2 separate regions of the Homo sapiens genome follow, and region 2 is linked to region 1. Evidence: promoter capture Hi-C in human tissues and cell types (Jung and others, 2019). All regions are on one chromosome and are shown on one strand. Each heading gives the region's core, a stretch centred on a gene start or on the middle of the fragment in contact. The rest is flanking DNA. Distances are from core to core; before and after follow the strand shown.

Evidence for each region. Contacts are between HindIII fragments. The study calls those that stand out against the background at their distance.
Region 2: a fragment that was not itself captured here is called in contact with the fragment with the promoter of SIK1 in region 1 in 3 of the 25 tissues and cell types used here (bladder, dorsolateral prefrontal cortex and spleen).

Annotation. Positions count from the first base shown.
Region 1 is chr21:43,425,881-43,431,805 of GRCh38, reverse strand. SIK1 (salt inducible kinase 1) reads left to right here and starts at 4,675. Exons shown (of 14, transcript NM_173354.5): 1 at 4,675-4,796; 2 at 5,614-5,783. The coding sequence starts at 5,628. It overlaps LOC124905029 (a long non-coding RNA gene), which reads right to left and starts at 2,222. Exons shown (of 3, transcript XR_007067891.1): 1 at 1-2,222. RefSeq lists a silencer at 783-1,077. The HindIII fragment of the contact is 13,239 bases long and covers 1-5,925 here.
Region 2 is chr21:43,385,457-43,390,800 of GRCh38, reverse strand. It overlaps LINC03039 (long intergenic non-protein coding RNA 3039), which reads left to right. Exons shown (of 3, transcript NR_176219.1): 3 at 211-2,202. Among named protein-coding and RNA genes, the nearest start is that of LINC03039, 12 kb to the left of the region's middle. RefSeq lists an enhancer at 4,681-5,259. The HindIII fragment of the contact is 6,673 bases long and covers 1-4,895 here.

The DNA.
Region 1 (5,925 bases), core at 3,426-5,925:
CGCCAAGGACCCCCACTGGGTCTGTCTTCCCAATCGTGGCCTCTGCTCTTCTTCCCCTCTGCTGAGAGCCTCTGCTCAGCATTCAGAGAGGGAAGGTGTGGGTGGCTGCCTCCTGCCCCATGCCCCCCGCCGGGGCTCCACCTCTTCTCTCTCCTGGAGCAGTTGGTGTTCTCAGGGAAGGTCCTCGCTCAGTCCACGCCTGGCAAATCCCACGGAGAGGCCCGGAAGCAGTTCCCTCCATGGCCACTTTCCTGCCAGCATTCTTTTCTTACTCATCATCTTATGCTGTTACTGTCTCCGCAACTGGAACCAACGGTCCTCGAGAGAAGGTGTCTTGTGTCCCTCCTACTGTGCCCACAACCTTCACGCAGTGCCTGACACACAGCAGGGCCTCTCGAGCCTTTGTGGACATCTGGAGGATGACTCCGAACTCACCCTCGCGTTGCACCGTCTCACCTCTCTCTGGGGACCTGTCCCTTCCCACAGTGAACTTCGAAGCATGTCTGTCTGTCACCATGTTCTGGCACAGTCTGGCCATGCTCACCTGTGTCCACCCGCTGACTCATTGCAGCTGGCACACTTGTTGCAAATGGCAGAAACTCACATTATTTTGCATAAGTAAATAGTAACCAAAAAAAAAAAAGATGGTTTACCATGCTCTACACTAGCAGCCAGCATGTCACCTGGAAACACCGAGACCTGAGCTGACACTCAGACGTCTCCATCTCCCGGGAGCCACGCTCCGTGTGGCCCTGGCAGAGTGCCCAGGATAAAGAGCACGGCCAGCACCTGCTCCAGTCCTGGTCCCCAGTGTCTGCACAAAGCTGCAGCATCCCAGAGGCTTCTGCTCTGCCTCTGGGGACCTTTGCTCCGTTTGCGGATGCGGTTTCCTTCTTCCTACAGAGAGGCAGGTGGTTTACTCCAGCGCTGCCTGCTCAGCACAGGGTGACCTCCTGCCAGGCTGTCCATGGTGCTCTTCCTAAGTGAGCACTCCCCCCCGGGGGAACCCCTGGCTCTGTTTGGGGCCTGGCTGACTCTCGCTGGGGCTGGCCCCTTCCTGCACCCCCCTCCCCCGCCGTCCGACCTCAGCATATGGCTCAGGGACACAGACACCCAAAGGCCTCTTGGGTCCTCAGCCTTGATATCGGCCACAGCCCTGCTTAAATGTCAAGAAAACGCATTGGCCACATGAATAATTCCTCACTAACGGCAGCGACAGAAACCGGAACCAGAAACCCTAGAGGGCTGGAGCGGGGAGGGCCGACTGGCCCGTGAACAGGCACGTTTCTGCTGCTTTGCCGGCCTTCGTGGTCCATTTAAGCAGCCCGTGGAAGGCCTAGCCTGAAAGTGGGTGCTGTCTGAGATGGGGAGGGGCCCTGGGCCCGGTAGGATCCACACAACTGTGGCAGCCACGGAACCACAGGGAGCCAAGTGTAGGAGGTGAAGGAAGCAATGCCCTGGGGGCGGACGCTGGGACTGGGCAGTCTCTGGTTTGACCTGTTCGCGGGGGATTCTTGACTTAACCTGTGGACAACTGGGCCATTCCCTGAGGGTGGAGGGGGCTGGGGGCTTTTCTCCTACCTGCCCTCTTCCCAGGCCAGGGCCGTGGCTTCCTGACCTAGTGCACACATGTCTGTCTGTCAAGCTCTCCAGATACAATGGGGCAAAATGACCAACGTGGCCCCCGGGTCCCTGAGAAGGATGCCGCTGCAGTGGTTAATCTGATTTTCTGGCACCTAAAGCCGCTAGGCTGAAGCCTAAACAAACCAAAACAAAATTTAAAAAGTACAAAACCACCTGAAGCAAAGCCAGGAAGACAGGGAAGGGCCTTAGGCGTCGAAGATGGGAGGGTAGGGTCGGGAAGAGGAACTCGTCTGACTCCTGGCTGCACTGGGAGATTCCTTCCTCACAGAGGGCGGCACTGGGGCCAGCTGGGCACCCATCCCTTTGCAAAAATGCTGCCCCACGCTCCATTCTCTGTGTTTATCAATTGATTTTGAGAGTTTTGTGACATGCCAGTGGCCAGCGTTACAACTATGAATAATAAATGGACCCATTTCCTGTTGGGGTTTCCAGTCTTAAGGCCTAAAAAACAAGATGAACTCCAGAAACACGGCAATCATAAGACAAGCTGAAGAAAGTCCATGTGGAAAGGAAAACTGACTTGCCGTTTTCCACAAATCTGTAATAATATGCAAACCATAATAATAAAGTACCGTTCCTGCAGACTTTGGGAGCATTCCTTCCATTATGTTCAGTGAGGAGCTTCTCCAATCATTTGCTTGTACCATCCTTACACTCACACCATGTGTTTTATTTTTCCTCGTGTTAAAGGCACGGAAGACCAGAAAACAGAAAAGAAATCAAAGCTTCTGAGAGGAAATACAGCCTCGGGGGGTCAAGGACACAAACAACAACAAAAGACATTGGGTAACAGAGACCAGGTTGAAGCACAGACTTAGTTATGAGGGTGCCAGGGGTTCCCCCAGTGGGGAGACGGGACAGCCGTTCCAAGCTTGGCCTTTTCCTCTGTGCTTCCTGCCTTTCTCTGCAGAGCGAGCTCCTTGCCCACGGGCCCAGGGAAGGGAAAACAGGATGGCCATGGTTGGCACAGGGCTGTTCTGGGTTTTGGAAGCTCAGGGCTGGGTCAGGGTGAAAGGTCAAGTGCACCTGAGTTTGGGGACCTGTTCTGCGGAGGCAGTTTTGGCTGCAGTTTTTATTTGGTGCTGATGCAATGTTTCCAAACAGCCAGCCAGGTGTTTGCAAATACCTAAGACCTTTTGGAAGACTCTGGCTAGGGTGGGAGGGGTGGGGAAGCCTGCTTCCTGGATGCGGGGGGCAGTATTTCAAGTCACAGGCTGAGGGACTGAATGGTGAGTGTGATCAGGGGCCTGGTTTCTCCCCCACCCCGCCTTTTATCTTTGTTCTTTTTTGAGACAGGGCCTTGTTCTCTTGCTCAGGCTGGAGTGCAGTGGTGCAATGACAGCTCACTGCAGCCTCAACCTCCCAGGCTCACGCCATCCTCCCACCTCAGGCTCCCAAGTAGCCGGCCCCACAGGCGTGTGCCACCACACCTGGCTATTTTAAAAGTATTTTATAGAGGTGAGGTCTTGCTATGTTAACCAAGCCGGTCTCAAACTCCTGAGCTCAACTGATCCTCCTGCCTCAGCCTCCCAAAGCACTGGGATTACAGGCGGGAGACACGACGTCCAGCCTTGTTTTTGTTTAGTTCTCCTAGGAGCGGATTAACAGGGTGTTGGGACCTCCAAAAGGAAAAAAGGCAGTTGTACACTGTTCAGCTGAAAGGAACTAAAAATATTCCCCCGTATTCTTGGTATATAAACCTGGGACAAAGAAAAACACTCTGAACGATTAAGGAAAACTTTGGGACTCTTCATTTCCTTGAAAGCCTTTGAAAACCAACTGACTCCCAAACAACCCGTGTGTGTGTGTGTGTGTGTGTGTGTGTGTGTGTGTGTGTGGCGATTGGGAAATCTGTGGTCAGACCCTCGGGCGAATGAGGAGAAGCTCATCCTCGTTTCTCCGGGCCCTCCTCCCAGGCGTCCGTCCAGGCAGGAAAGCCTCCCGAGAAGGGTTCCAAGTTTTGTGCCAACTCCCCTGAATTCTCGTTCCCCCTTCTGTGAAGTAGTGTTATTTAACACAAGGAAAACTGACCCTAGGCTCGATCCAGAATCTAACTCCCAAATGGGTCCTCAGGCTTAAAAAATACCTTCGCCCACAGCCTCTGTCTCCCCTGAAGAAAACGTTTTCCGTTCGGATGAGGCATCGGCCACGGGCAAGCAAGTGGTCCCGCGCCCCCGTCCCCTACCCAGGCGGCCGGCCTGGCTCCGTCACCGCCCGCAGCGTCCGCCCGGGGCCCGCGCGGGAAGAGGGTCCCAGCCCCACATGCTGCGGGGGCAGCCCCGGGACGCGCAGACGCCAGCGCCGCTGAGGGCCGGGGCCGGGACCGGCCGCGCGGCGGGGGCTTCCAGAGCGGCCGGTCACGCTTCCTTAGGTTTCAAGTTTCTAACTTGCTGAACATTTCAGATTTTAACAGCAAAAGCGGCTGACGTCCCCGCGGGCAAGCGGCCTCTCGGGGTCTGCAGCGCCCCAGGGCATCCGCGCCGCCAGCCCCACGCGCGAGCCCGCGAGGCCCCCGGGCCCCCGCACGTCCCGAGGCTCTGAGTCTGGACGAACGCAGGCCGCGTGGAGGGGCCGGCGACCCCTGCCCGAGAGCCGTCCCCTCCTGGAGGGAGCGAGCACAAGGCGCCCGCGGGACCCGGCCCGAGTGCCCGAGCGTGGAGGGGCGGGCGCGCCCTCGGCGGTGGGGCCGCCCGCAGTGCCCCCAGCGCCCGGGAGGGGGCGCCCGGCGGAGCGCAGGCGGGCGGGCCTCGGGCGGCGGGCGCCCCTGACGTCACCGGCCCGCGGTCGCCAGGGCAACGGCCTCATCCCGCGCGCGTCAGAGCCGCCAGTCTCTTGGCAACCGCCCGATCTCCCGCTCTCCCTCCGCCCGGCGCTCGGCCGCGCGTCGCTCTGGCGTCAAAGCGACGTCAATGGGCGGCCCCCGCCCGGGCGGCGGGGGCGGGGCAGGGGGCGGGGACTACGGGGGGCGGGCCGGGGCGGGCCGGGGCGGGGCCGGGCGCCGCGTGCGGCGGAGCGCGGCGGCTCCGGGCTGACATGCGGCGCGGCCCCGGAGGCAGCAGCAGCGGCGGCGGCAGCCGGAGCAGTAGGCACCCGAGCAGCGCCAGCGGCCGAGCGGGCGGCTTCCTGGCCTGGGCGCTCCGGTGGCGGCGGAGGTGAGGCGGCGGCAGCGGCGGCAGCGGCGGCAGCGGCGGGCTCCGGGCGGGCGGAGGTGGCCGCCGTGGGGGCTCCGCGCGGGCGCCGGGCCGGGGCTCGGGGTTGCAGCCACCGCGCAGGGTCCCTGGCCTTGCGCGCGCGGGGTTCGCGGGCGGGGTTGGCGGCCTGGCCGCCCTCGGGCTCCCCTTTGTTGGGGGGCCGGGGTAGGAGTGAGTCCGCGGGGCTCAGGGGCTGGGGAGCCGGGGGTCAGGTTGGAGCCGACCGCGGGCGGAGATACCGGGTGTGGGGGGCGGGTCCGCGATCCCCGAGGTGCCTGGGATGTCGGGGGTGGGGACCGGACGGATCGCGGGCGGCGGGGGCAGGGTGTGGGAGCGGGGCAGGGGACGGTCCTGGGATCCGGATCGAGCCGACCTCGGGTGGCAGGGCCAGGTGTGGGAGCGGGTCCGCGCCCAGAGGTGCTAAAGGGGTCGAGGGTGGGGACGGAACCGACAGCGGGCGGCGGGAGGCGAGTGTGGAATCCCGGCTCAGGGGGTCCCGGGATCGGGACGGAACCGGACTCGGGCGGCAGGGGCCTCTATGAGAGCGGGTCCGTGCGCCCCGCGGGGCTCAAGAGGGTCGGGGGTCCGGGTGGAGCGGGCGGCGGGGGCGGGTCCACACCTCCCACGGGGCTGGAGGGGCCCGTGGATAGAGTGGGGGCGACAGGCGTGGGAGCAGGTCCCTGCGTCCCGTGGGGACTGGGGGCTCCGCGGGCACGGATGGAGCCGACCGCGGGCGGCGGGGGCGCTGGTGGGCTCTGAGCTCTGTGCGGCCCCGCAGGTGCGCGCGGAGCCATGGTTATCATGTCGGAGTTCAGCGCGGACCCCGCGGGCCAGGGTCAGGGCCAGCAGAAGCCCCTCCGGGTGGGTTTTTACGACATCGAGCGGACCCTGGGCAAAGGCAACTTCGCGGTGGTGAAGCTGGCGCGGCATCGAGTCACCAAAACGCAGGTGCGTGGGGGCGGTGGGACCCAGCCGGCGGGGCCTCCCCACTGGACCCGGGGCGACCCGACCTTTGGCGGGTGGACCCCATGCAGATTCACTGCTCCAGGCTTGATTGTCGTGGTGGGTAAATAGTAACCGTTTTTAGTTC
Region 2 (5,344 bases), core at 310-2,809, 38 kb after region 1:
GGAAATAGAAAACACACACAGTCTATATCTGTATGTGTATATGTTTTATATATTCTATATGATATATTTTTAAATAGGGTTTTCTTCCCAGGATGGGATCTTACTGAACATTCTTAAAAACCAATTAATTTTAGACATGCCCAGCTGTCCCACATTTCCATAGAGGAAGGGCAGGAGAATTCTCTAAATATTCTGTGTGTTTTCCTTCAGGCCCAGCGTCCCTCGAGGTGAGGTTGGGACCATGTGACCAGCCATGGCCAATGGGCTCTGAGCAGAAGGACCATGAGTCGGCTTGCCAACACACTCAGAGGTTGCATGCCTCCTCCACAGGCCCCTCTCTGCCGTGGGACCCTGGAGGCATGTCTGTGAGGGCGGCACTAGGAGATGGGGAACCCGGCCCCCCAGTGACCCTGGAGGAGGGCCCTGACAATCCGTGTGCTGCTTGCCCTAGAGAGAAATACGCTGTAGCGCGATTAAGCTGTGAGATTTTGGAGGTTTGCTTGTTACTGCGTCACGTCACGGCCCAGCCTCTCCTGACTCGGTGCAGCAGATAACAATGGCAGTCAAAGCACCACGTTATCTGTTCTGAAGAAAGTGGAACTTTCTTCTGAAAATGCAGGTGGCCTCAGACACTCCGGGAGGCGTTCTCAATCCATTGCAACACTTTGTGGGGGAAATTGCCTGAGTCCCCCAGCTCGTCCATCTCTGCACCGGAGACTGTACGGGGTGAAGGAGGGTGTCTTAGGAAGCCACTGAGGCATCGCCAGAGCCCGCACGGGCAGCGTCAGGCACCCCAGGAGGTCATTTCACATGTTCTACAAGGACATGTTTTCAGCTCTCCAGTTTTCTAGTGGAGGAAACCAAACCTCCCAGGTGGTCAACACAGGCGTTTGCCCCACATGCCACCACCAGGTAGCCACGGGTCTCATGGGTGACTGGGAATGGGAGGGGAAGGAAGAAGCTCTTCTTTTGTGGAATCTGATCACAGGGAACCCTCTCCCGCCCGGGGCTCAGAATCTGATCACAGGGAACCCTTTCCCGCCTGGGGCTCAGAATCTGATCACAGGGAACGCTCTCCCGCCCGAGGCTCAGAATCTGATCACAGGGAACCCTCTCCCACCTGGAGCTCAAGATGGTTTCCTGCAGACCTGGAATTAAACGTCAGGCTCCTGCCTGAGTCGCCGGGACCCCCAGCCTGGCTGACCTCTTCTTGCTCTGCTGAGCTCTCTGCATGCCCCCAAGGCCCTCTCCGCCTCTGGCTCAGCCCTTAGGAAGCCCTGGCAGAGAAGCCCAGGATGGGAGAGGCAAAATGGGGAGGATGAGGTTTGCATTACCTGTAATCCTGGCCAGGCCACAGTACCTAAGTGCTCAAACATGAGCCCAGGTGTAGCTGGGAAGGTGTCCTGCAGAGGAGCTCAATATCCACAATCAGATGATCTGAAGGAGATTAGCCTCGATTTTTCTGGGAGGGACTCATCCCTTCAAAGGAAGCCCTTAAGAGTGAAAACCGAGGTTTCACTGAGAACACCTGCCTCAAGACGGTGACGTGCCCTACTGCGTGTCTCCTGCCTGCCGCCTGCCCTGCAGGTTTTGAACCCCCATGATTGCGGGATCCAATGCCTTAAAATAAATCTCTAAACATATATCCGTCTAGGTAAACCGCCTGTTGTCTAAACATATATCCGTGTATGTAAACCGCCTGTTGTCTAAACATATATCCGTGTATGTAAACCGCCTGTTGTCTAAACATATATCCGTGTATGTAAACCGCCTGTTGTCTAAACATATATCCGTGTATGTAAACCGCCTGTTGTCTAAACATATATCCGTGTATGTAAACCGCCTGTTGTCTAAACATATATCCGTGTATGTAAACCGCCTGTTGTTGTCTAAACATATATCCGTGTATGTAAACCGCCTGTTCTCTAAACGTATATCCGTGTATGTAAACCGCCTGTTGTCTAAACGTATATCCGTGTATGTAAACCGCCTGTTCTCTAAACGTATATCCGTGTATGTAAACCGCCTGTTCTCTAAACGTATATCCGTGTATGTAAACCGCCTGTTCTCTAAACATATATCCGTGTATGTAAACTGCCTGTTGTCTAAACGTATATCCGTGTATGTAAACCGTCTGTTCTCTAAACATATATATGTGTATGTAAACCGCCTATTGTCTAAATATATATACGTGTATATGAACCGCCTATTGTTTTTTTCATGTCAGGAAAGCCGGGACAAATCCCCCTGGTTCTGTTTCTCGGAAGAACGTTGCCTGTTAAGGGGGCGTTTCCACTGCCCTCCAAGGGCTTGGGACTCACTGTGTCCTTTGTGTGTGTCAGGGGTGGGGAGCGGCTCCTGTCCAGGCCTTCTTACCGACAGCTACAAGGCTTGGGTCGGCACTGGCTCCTGCCCTCCCTCTCCAGGCCTTGGGAAGACGCGGTTCTCCTGCCCGGGCTGCCCCTTGAGCACCCATCCCTCCTGGTTTCCCAAGTCTGTCCTGTTCTTGTAATTCCTTTATTAAATGCTCCTTAAGTGATTCAATTTGCATGTAACATCTATTTCCTGCCAGGCCCCTGCCTCCTGCCTGGCACTCCCCGTTCACCCCACAGCCAACTGCCATCGGGATGTGCCCAAGCCTCGCAGCAAGAGAAATCTGGAGGCCACGTTCACCGCCCCTCAGACGCAACCCCAGGGCGTCAGCAACTGGCGAGGCCTTTTAATCAAGCAAACTCAGTCCTGCACTGCACACGGCTTTTTGCTTCCTTCGTAATGGCTAGCATCCATAAGTAATCATCCAAAAGTGCAGTGTGTGAGAAAATCAGAACTGCACGGTCTACTGGGCATTCACCCCAGGTAGCGAGCTCTTAGGCTCCCGGGGGGCAAGGACAGGGAGGAGGAAGGGAGGGAGGGAGGGAGGAAGGGAGGGAAGGAGGAAGGGAGGGAGCAGCCTCCCTTGGCGCTGGGGACGGTGGCTCCATTCTCATGAGGCAGAGAGCTCTGGCTTGGGAAATTCCTGGGCTGGAGGGATTTCCTCTCCTCATCCTTGGAGGTCGTGCTTCCTCCAGAGGAATTGTGGAGCCCCTTCCTGGCTCTTCCCAGCAGGGATCCCCCTTCCCAGTGTCTCCTAGCATCCCCTGAACTGGAGAGCCTCCCCGCTACCTGGGCTGGTCGCTGTGGAAACCGTCTCACAGCTGAGGGGCTGGCTCTGCTGGAAGTGGGAAGCTGGCAGCATTTCCCTGGAGCCCGGCCCAGGGGTTTGGGGTGGGCTGAGCACTCGCCCCCAGGGCTGTGCCACACAGAGGCGGGCCTTGACTTGTTTAGAAGTTTGACATTTCGTTCATCATGAATTGTGCATTAATTTTAATTTTTAAAAGTATTACACTAAAATGTTATTGATCTTGATTTTTTTTTAGCACCCTCCCACTTAAGTTTTGCCCCAAACCAAGTGTCTGGTCCTTCCGGCTTTTTGGGACAAAGCTAGGAGCCGGGTGGAGAGAGGAGCTGGGCTTTGGGGCAGGCAGGCCTGGGCGAGCCCTGGCCAGCCCCGTGCCCCTGGGCAGTGTCCTTCGCTTCCCTGAGCCTCCTGTCCCTGACGCCGGGCAGGGCGTGGGAGGTGTGTGATGCAGTGGGGACCACGTGGCACTCGCCAGCCTCTGTGGTCACTGGAACAAGGCCGTGTCCAGAGGAGACCGACTCCCCATGAGGGCAGGCGTCAGGGCTTTCGCTCCTCACTCTGACCCTGTGTCGGTGCTTGGTGGCCCCACAGAAGCCCAGTAAACGCCAGTCACCAGGAAGGGCCCCACCCACCCATCCCAGACCCCGGAGGTCCACGGAGCAGCAGGAGGGCTGGGCAGTCCTAGCGGCACCAACGGGGCATCACAGCTCTTGTCGTCTTAGGGCCGCCGCTCTGGGCAATGTCCGGGAGGTGCCTGGGGATGGCCAAGGGCTTCTGAAGCAGGAGAGACCTGAAGGCTGGGCTGGGGCTGCAGAAGTGGCCACAGGCCAATGTCATCCCAGAAGGCCCTCCATGGGGGCACTCCTGGGGCCCGCCCAGCAGCCAGGCCCCGGGCCGAGATGCCCGGATCAGGAAAGCCCTGTGGGGTTGGAGACTTCCTCTCTGGCTCTCAGCAACACAGGAGCACGCTGTGCCCACCCACCCCAGGTGTTGGGGTCCCCAAAACCACATTTTGGGGCAACCACATTTTGGTTCCCCATGTGTTTGGAACTTGTCTGAGCATCACCTGCCTGATCCTAGATGTGCAGGACACTTTGTGCCCAGTCTCTGCAGGGTCCCCCAAACGTTGACCCTCAGGGACTTGTTCTTCCCATTTTATAAACTAAGGCAGAGCGGCTGCTCCTCACTTCTCTGCCAGGGCCAAGGGAAGGGCTTTGTCTCATCACCTACCCTGGGACAGGGGTGGTGACTGGTCGGTGACCAGGAGGCCCTGCGTGGTTTGGTGACTTGCCCACAGTCACCCATTGCAGGCCCGTGTGGAGTCCACCTCTGGCCTCTGCCCTTTGCTACATGAGATCTGTCTGTGGCAGACTCTTCTGGAAACTTGAGCCAGCGGGCCGGAGGCTGCACCCTAAACCCCCGGCTGTGCCCCTGGCAGGCAGGCGGGAGACAGCAGCAACCAGCCCATGGGCTGTGGGCATCCTCCAGCCGGTGTCCCATCTGCCCTGCAAGCAGTGCCTGGGCTCAGAGCAGCCCACAGGACACTGTCCAAGATGCGCAGACCCCGAGGGCCAGAGGGACCGGCTCTGCAGGAATCCCACCTCCTGGGCCCACTCCGCACAGAGTGTTCTGCAGGGCCTGGGAGAACCAGGCACCTGGCCAGGACAGCCTGTGGGTGGGCAGCCGTGTGCACAGATACACACACACGTCAGGGACAGACACACACACACCAGGGACACACACCACACACACCAGGGACGCACACCACACACACCAGGGACACCCACACACACCACGGACGCACACCACACACACCAGGGACACCCACACACACCAGGGACGCACACCACACACACCAGGGACCCCTGCACACACCAGGGACACACACACACACACCGGGGATGCACACCACACACACACCAGGGATGCATACCACACACACCAGGGACCCACACACACACCAGGGACCCACACACACTCCAGGGACGCACACCACACACACCAGGGACCCCCGCAAACACACACACCAGGGACACACACACACCAGGGACACACACACCACACACACACCAGGGACACACACCACACACACCAGGGACACACACCAGGGACAGACACACAAGGGATGCACACACACCAGGGACGCACAGCACACACACCAGGGAC